Regions from separate parts of the Homo sapiens genome. Here region 1 is linked to region 2. Evidence: promoter capture Hi-C in human tissues and cell types (Jung and others, 2019). All regions are on one chromosome and are shown on one strand. Each heading gives the region's core, a stretch centred on a gene start or on the middle of the fragment in contact. The rest is flanking DNA. Distances are from core to core; before and after follow the strand shown.

Evidence for each region. The method cuts DNA at HindIII sites, captures the fragments that hold promoters and counts their contacts. A contact is called where the count stands out against the background at its distance.
Region 1: a contact is called between a fragment that was not itself captured here and the fragment with the promoter of NBL1 in region 2, in 1 of the 25 tissues and cell types used here (pancreas).

The regions. Positions count from the first base shown.
Region 1 is chr1:18,605,739-18,609,618 of GRCh38, forward strand. No RefSeq gene overlaps it. Among named protein-coding and RNA genes, the nearest start is that of PAX7, 23 kb to the right of the region's middle. The HindIII fragment of the contact is 8,128 bases long and covers 1-3,880 here.
Region 2 is chr1:19,641,781-19,645,608 of GRCh38, forward strand. NBL1 (NBL1, DAN family BMP antagonist) reads left to right here and starts at 2,531. Exons shown (of 4, transcript NM_005380.8): 1 at 2,531-2,666. The region is part of intron 1 of MICOS10-NBL1 (MICOS10-NBL1 readthrough); the gene reads left to right. RefSeq lists an enhancer at 1,543-2,378 and a silencer at 2,277-2,616. The HindIII fragment of the contact is 7,978 bases long and covers 1-3,510 here.

The sequences.
Region 1 (3,880 bases), core at 85-2,584, 1.0 Mb before region 2:
TCCCCACCTGCCCACCCCCACACTGCCCCCTTCACCCATCAGAAGTTAATTCCTCAGAAACTTTCCTTGGGAGCAATTTCCACTTCTTATTATGCCCGCTGCGCCGGCCCAGCTCGGTGCTATCTGGCTCTGTACAGCAGGGAAGACGGTCTGACACTTGCCTGGAATAGCAGAGGTGATGGAGAGGGGGGCGGCTCCTGGGATTACGATAAGGGCTCACAGGCCGCTTGGTATGCCAGCCCAGGCCGCACGCTTTACCTTCCATATTGGGGTGATAAAGATGATTTTCCATGCTGGTCCCTATCGCCTATCAAGACCAAACATTCAAATACAGCCCTACGTTTTAAACTCTGCAGCACCCTGCAACACACCGCCTCCTCCAAAGGAAATGGAACCTTATGATTTGAAAGGTAAAAAAAAAATTAATTGAAGTAGCCAGGTCAATCCCTCCCTATCAACTCCTGGATTTAATGAAAAAATGGAGACCCATTTTGAAGGCAAGTGTGCTTATGGGGGGCAGAAAGAGAGAGACGGGGACTGGGAGGTATTTGGCCAGCTTCGAGAAAGCCCCATGCATGCCTTCAGGAGGGTTCCAGACAAGGGCACCCTGTCCCAACCCACTTGTAGGTGCCCTGGCCTCAAAGTTGTAAAATCCCAGCCAAGGAGGAAGACCTTGACCCAAAAGAGAGGTGCCAGGTTGGAAGAAGCAGGAGGGGTGGGGGTGGAGGAGGGAGCGTGACTTCACTTCCCATCGTAATAAAATTTTACCAAAGAAGAAAGAGGCTTCAGGAAGGTTTGGCTTCTGTTTATATTATTATTATCATTTGAGGATTTCAGAATTGTTTCCTGGGTTCGGAGTCTGTCAGCAGAATATTTATTGTACTTTATGGTACATTAGTAACAAGATTGTCTTCCCTTTCCACCGCCAACTTCAAACCCCCTGTCATTCTGGAGGGAGAGGGTATTAAGGAGGAGGATTTCTTTTTTGCCAAAGTCAGCAGCTATGGCAGAGATGCCCCCAACTCCCGGAACTCCAGCTGCCTTGGCATCGCCCACGGGGCCGGGGGAGGAGTAGGGGAAGCGGCTAAGCTTTCAGGCTTTGTACCCTGGCTGGGCCTGGCACCACCATCATCCTTGTTCCTCTTGGTCATCGTGCACCCCGTGCACCTGCACCTGGCACCTCCTGAACTCTTCAGAGGGCTGCTGGGAGCACTGCAGGAAGAGGCCCTGCCTGCTGTGTCTCCCCATCCCCAGAGGGGCACCGCACCCCAGCACAGCCTCAGCACCAGCCACAAATTACAGCCTGGACAACCGTGGATTGCTGGCCTGCAGGAAGGGGACGGAGTGGGGCGCCAGGGATGAGGAGGCGGCGCCATCCCCCCTCCTGCAGGAGCAAAGGGACAAAGGGGCTGGAACAGAGAAGCTGGCTGCCTAGCCAGCTACCCTGCCCACAGCAGCTTCTCCTACAGGTTTTACAAGTCTGCCCTGGAGGCGGGGAGAAACGTGGCCACAAGCCATTAATTACAAATTGGTTCAGGGAGGGAAAGGCTGGAGAAGGGGTTTCCACATCAGCTCCTACCTCAGCTGGGAATTCCTCCTCTTTCTGGAATGGGTCCTGCAGCAAGCTCTGGGCTGGCAGAGGGGTCCCAGCACCTGCCCCGCTGGGTGTTTGCCTGTCGCGCCTCTGTGGGCCTCATTTTTCCTCACCTGTCAACCAAGGGATTGGATGAGATCAGCTCTAGAGATATTCCTAATTCTGGTAATAACAACAATGGTAAGAGCTGCCACAGGCATTACCTCATTGAATCCTCCAACAACACTGTGAGCTGGGTCCTATTACTATCTTCACAGTGCAGGTGAGGGAGCAGGAGGAGCAGCGAGTGTGGTGGCCTCAGAGGAGGCAGAGTCAGCCTTGTCGTTTGGTAGGTAGTGGCAGTTGGTGCCTGGAGTCCTGCCTGACTCCAGAGCCCCCCTCGTGACGCTCAGCATAATGGCCTCTGACAATTCTGCAGGTCTAGGATTATACATTTATCTTCCAACTTTTCCTCATCAACTAAAAATAAAGAAAGAAATGTGTCTAGAATCTTAAAAACTTCAGGATGAGTTCCTGGGCAGCAGCAGGACTCTCCGTGCCCATGCAGACATCAGCAGCAGTGTGGGAAAATCCAGGCCTGGGCCTCTCTTCTAGGAGGTGGAGAGGCTGTGGAGAAGGCAGCCAAGCCCAGTTAGTACCCCAGGGGCACCATGGTCCACCACCTTCCCTCCTCTTCCAGAATCCCGCATCTTGCCAGGCCCAAATCTCCTCGCTCTGGACCACTCTCAAGAGAGGTGGGATGTTGCAGGGTACAATTCCGTGTTGGGGGGCGGCCTTAGCCTTACCAGCTAGATGCCAGGGGCACCCCCAACCGCAGTTGTGACAACTTTCCCAGGTATTCCAATTGTCCACTGGGGGGGGCGGGGGGGCGGGGAGGGGGGCAAAATCATCGCCCAGTTGAAAAGCATTGCTCTAGTAGTTAAAAGTATGGGGCCAAGTTACCTCAGTTCAAAATCCCCTTCTGCCACGTAGAGTGTGGCATTTGGCAAGCTGCTCGACCTATCCAAAGCTCAGTCTCCCCATCCGTCAAATGGACGTCATAATGATTACAAGGATGAGGACTTGACAAGAGAAAGCCAACTCTGAGGACTTGACAAGAGAAAGCCTGTGCTGTGCACACAAGGCCCTTAGCCTAGAGCCTGGAAATGGCCTTAACCAAAGGAGATGGTCATAGGATGGGAGAAGCAACAGCGTCACCCAGAGAAGAGGAGCTTCACTGATAGAAATCACCAGACTTGGGTCTGGTGTCATCATAGGTTGGGCACAGCACAGCCTGAAAATTTGTCTGCAGACTTTGAGACCCTGGCTCTGAAGGCCCTGGTAGTCACCTTGCCTGGTCCTTTAACCAAAGACCCCACATCAAGATTTGCCTCATTTCATTAGATCATAAGTTATCCACCAGGGGCAGTATTCACTCACAGAGGACATTTGGCAATGTCTGGAGACATTTTTTATTGTCACAACCAGAAAGAGGAGTAAGTGGGAGTGCTATTGGCACCTAATAGGTAGAGACCAGGGATGTTCTAAACACCCTACAATTCAGAGAACAGCCATCAGAGCAAAGAATTGTCCAGGCCAACATGTCAGCGGTGTCCATATTGAGATACTCTACATCAGACTGATTCTACTCACTTTCTTTCCCTTTTTGCCTTGGCCACCAGGAAGCTCAAAGCAAAGTTTTATACTCAACTGCCATAGCTGTTTTCATTCTTGGTTTCCAATTCAACTATTTATCTCCCCAGCTCTCATCTTTAATGACTCTATATGTTCTTTTATCCTTCTTTCAATAGGCCTATAGGATTTTTGTTTTGTTTTAATCATGCTTTACTCTTTTAGGAAGAAGATGGTATATACACCAAAAGCCAAACTAATCTCTGTTGCTTCTTTTTAGGTGATTAAAAATGTTTGATGTGTGGTTTGCACTTTCTTTTGTAAGTTATTTTATCCTCTCAACAGCCAAATAAAGCACATGTGTGAAGAAACTGAGGCTCAGCCAGGTGATTCTGTGAGTAAATAATGAAGCTAGAACTTAACAAAACAAGTGAAATGTCAGAGACTAAATGAACCATATTAACCTGCTTAGATGGGCAATAGTAATCATTCTTAATGTATTCATGCTAATTAACCAATTAATCCCTACAGCAACCTTTTAAAAACATAACACCATTTCCTTTTTAAAGATGAGAAAACCCAACACCCCCAGCCAACGTGGATGACTAAATTAGACAGTCTCATCCGAAAGCCACTTGATTAATTCTGCCATCCACACAGACTAAGTTATCCAGA
Region 2 (3,828 bases), core at 1,281-3,780:
CACTTTTTTTTTTTTTTTTTGAGACAAGGCCTTGCTGGAGTGACAAGCTCATTAGGTTCCACAATTAGCCTTCTGCAATGTTGTCCAGGCTGGAGTACAGTGGCACAATCATAGCTCACTGCAGCCTCAAACTCCTGGGATCAAGTGATCCTCCAGCCTCGGGATTTTTTTCACTTTTATTATTTTATTTGTTTGTTTGTTTATTTATTTATTTATTTGAGATGGAGTCTCACTCTGCCTCCCAGGCTGGAGTGCAGTGGTGCGATCTCGGCTCACTGCAACCTCCGCCTCTCAGGTTCAAGTGATTCTCCTGCCTCAGCCTCCCGAGTAGCTGGGACTACAGGCACACGCCACCACACCTGGCTGATTTTTGTATTTTTAGTAGAGAGAGGGTTTCGCCATATTGGCCAGGCTGGTCTCGAACTCCTGACCTCAAGTGATCCTCCTGCCTTGGCCTCCCAAAGTGCTGGGATTACAAGCATGAGCCACTGCGCCTGGCACTTTTAAAACAGAGACAATACTTACCTCATAGGTTTATTGTGAGAGTGGCAACAGCTTGCAATGGGATGAGGCACATGGTAAGGTGCTCAATATGTGTGAACTATTATAACGGTCATAGTTACCATTAAGGGAAGACCTATCTGTGCTACATTAATGGGGGATAATAATTACTTTATTCGCTGGGCGTGGTGGTTCATGCCTATAATCCCAACACTTTGGGAGGCTGAGGCGGGAGGATCACTTGAGGCCAGGAGTTGGAGACCAGCCTGGGCAACATGGCAAAACCCCATCTCTACTAAAAATACAAAAACTAGCTGGGCGTGGTGGTGGGCGTCTGTAATCCCAGCTACTCGGGAGGCTGAGAATTGCTGGAACCTGGGAGGCAGAGGTTGCAGTGAGCCGAGATCACGCCATTGCATTTCAGCCAGGGCAACAAGAGCAAAATTCTGTCTCTAATAATAATAATAATAACAACAACAACAACAACAACAACAACTTCATTCAACCAAATACATTGTACATCTCACCTGGCCTGCCCATAAGCAATGGAGACACTGAAATAAACACGATTCCTGCCCTCAAGGTCTAATGGAGGAAAGAGATGTACACAGCTATTCTAGAGGGAAATTGACATGAACAGAAGTTCTCATCCTGTGCTCCAGGATCACACTGGAGGAGGGAGATGCTCCCAGAGGGTCTTGGGAAGGCTTTCCAATCTGGAGCTGGAAGAATGTTTGCCCAAGAGATGTACACAGTTATTCTAGAGGGAAATTGACATGAACAGAAGTTCTCATCCTGTGCTCCAGGATCACACTGGAGGAGGGAGATGCTCCCAAAGGGTCTTGGGAAGGCTTTCCAATCTGGAGCTGGAAGAATGTTTGCCAGAGATGAAAGGAGGGGAAGGGAATTCCGGGCAGAGGGAAGGGCGCAGGCAACAGCTAGGAGGCGCAGATGCAGGCTGGGTGTGGAGGGTGCGAGTAGGCTGGAGTACACCAGGGAGTTCCCAGCAGGCCACTAGGAGCCACCCAGGATGCCCGGCAACCTCATGAGTCAGACAAGCAGGGCTGTGTCTATCTGGAAGTTTCCAGCCAAGCTAGGTAAAACACATGGACACAGGTAACTATGCTGTAAAGCAAAATCCCCAAGTCCTACAATCGTGTCCCAGTGGTGTCCCTGGGCCACCACTTTCCAGAAGCAAAGTTATTTTCTCACCCCGTTGTTAAGCACACAGAATAGAGAAGGTACGGCCGCAATCCACCCAAGTGCCCACTGATTAGATAGGAACCCCCGAGGTGAGGCTGGAAGCTGGGGCCAGGAGCTCCACTCTTCCCAGGAGTCAGAGAAGTGAGTTCATTTGCTGGCTTTTTAGTTCCTAATAAGTCCCTGGGGCTTTTCGGGATGCTTAAGCCAAGGGCGTGGGGCCGAGAGCGACACTAGGATAACACTAGGCAAGGCTGAGCAACCCAGGCTACCAACAGCACGGACTTGAACCGGGTCGCATGCCGGAGCGGACGGGATGAGGTGCACCGCAGAACTGGGGACTCCTGGTGCCGGGACGCGGCGGGCTGGGGCGCCCCACTCTCGGGGCAAGTCTGCAATGCCCGGTGCCCACAAAAAGGACACATCCATCTTTGTCACCCCGAGGCCTGGCACGGCCTGACGGCCCAGGCTCGGTAAAAGTCGGGCGGAGAGAGTGGAAGCGCAGAGAAACCCGGGGAGGGCGCTTAAGAACGGGCCAGGGCGCCCGGCTGGGCTGCCCTGCCTCTCGGGCGCCGGCCAGGCGTCCCGGCCGCCCCACCACGCCGTCGGAGCGCGCCGAAGCTCAGCCCGGGGCGGGCGGGCCAGGAGAGGGCCCGGGGCCCCTGCCGCCGCGGCGCCCCCTCCTGCGCACCCGGAGGGAGAGGCCGCGCGCGCCCGCCCGCTCTTTCTGCGCGCGGCCCTCCCCGCTGCCCCCGCCCTCGCGCCCTGTTTGGAGGGAGCCACCCTGACGTCGGAGCCGCTCCCCCGCGCCGCGCGCCCGCCCGGGGCCGCAGACAGCGCGCAGCGCAGCCCAGCCGAGCGTCGCGGGGCCGCCCCCCGCCCTGCCGGCCGCCTCGCCGAGCCTCCTGGGGCGCCCGGGCCCGCGACCCCCGCACCCAGCTCCGCAGGACCGGCGGGCGCGCGCGGTAAGTCCCGCCCGGGTCGGCACGCGGGCGCCCGGCTTCCAGAGGCTTCGGCCGCGGGGGCAGTGCCGCGCCCCCAGCCCGGAGCTGCGTCCCCCGGCGCGTCCGGCGGCCGCGGGCACCGGGTGGAGGCGCCGCCGCCGAGCTCAGGAGCCCTGGGGGACCTGGCGGGCGCCTCCGGACGCCGGCGCTGGGGACGTGGGCGCGGCACGGGGTGGCCGGGGGGCACCGCCGCGTCCGGAGCCCGTCCCCAGACTCGCCCCAGGGTTCCGTTTCTGGATCGGAGTTTCCGCGGCCGGGGGAGAGAGGGAGCGAGGGAGGGAGATGCGTGGCCGGGCGGGCCGGGCTCGCATGTCCCCCGGCCGTGCCCGGGCCTCGCCGCGCCGCGCCTCTCGGCTCTGGACGTTTCCGCCTCCCGCGGCCCCCTCTGCTTCGGTCCCCACGTCCGTGTGTCTGTCTCTCCGTCGCTCCGTTTCCGCCGCTCACTTTCCCCTGGTCTGCCCGTCTCTTTCCGTTCCCCGCCTGCCTCCGTGTTCGGCTGCCCGCGTTTGTGTCTCTGCCTCTGGCTTTTCTCTCCCTCTCTCTGTCTCTGCGCTGCCCTCTGTGGGGGTCTCGCCCTGTGTCTGCGCCTCTCCCTGATCCCCCGCCCTCCGATCCAGACAATCCCCCAGTGTCGGAGGCTCGCCTTCCCCCAGCGGGGTTCACGAATAGTTTCCTAGACCGGGTGCGGCAAACCCTCCCCCTGCCTCCCGCCGGCCCCGAGGCCTGGCCCGGGTCATCTCCCTGGAATTGAGTCTGGGGCAGGGAGAGCCAGCCTTTCCGGGGGCTCAGTTTTCTTAAGAATTCCACCCCCGCGAGGCCGGCTGGACGACAGGCCCTGCTGCGGGCCACCTGCCCGGCCCGCTCCCAGGGCGGGGCGATTCTGATCGTTTACAAGCGGCGGCAAAGGGGGCAGCCGCCTGCCTTGGCGTGGCCGGAGGTTGGCGGGCATCAAGGGAGAAAGCCACACTTCCAGGCTTTCGGAGGCCCTCGCTCCCCAAGCTGGACGCCACCAGCCTGTAACTAGGGGCACCCCAGGAAAACAGAGGTCAGGGCTGGAGGCCAAAGACCGGGCGCTGGCGGGGAAGCAATTTGTCAACAAGGAGCCCCTCACCCTTTGTTACTG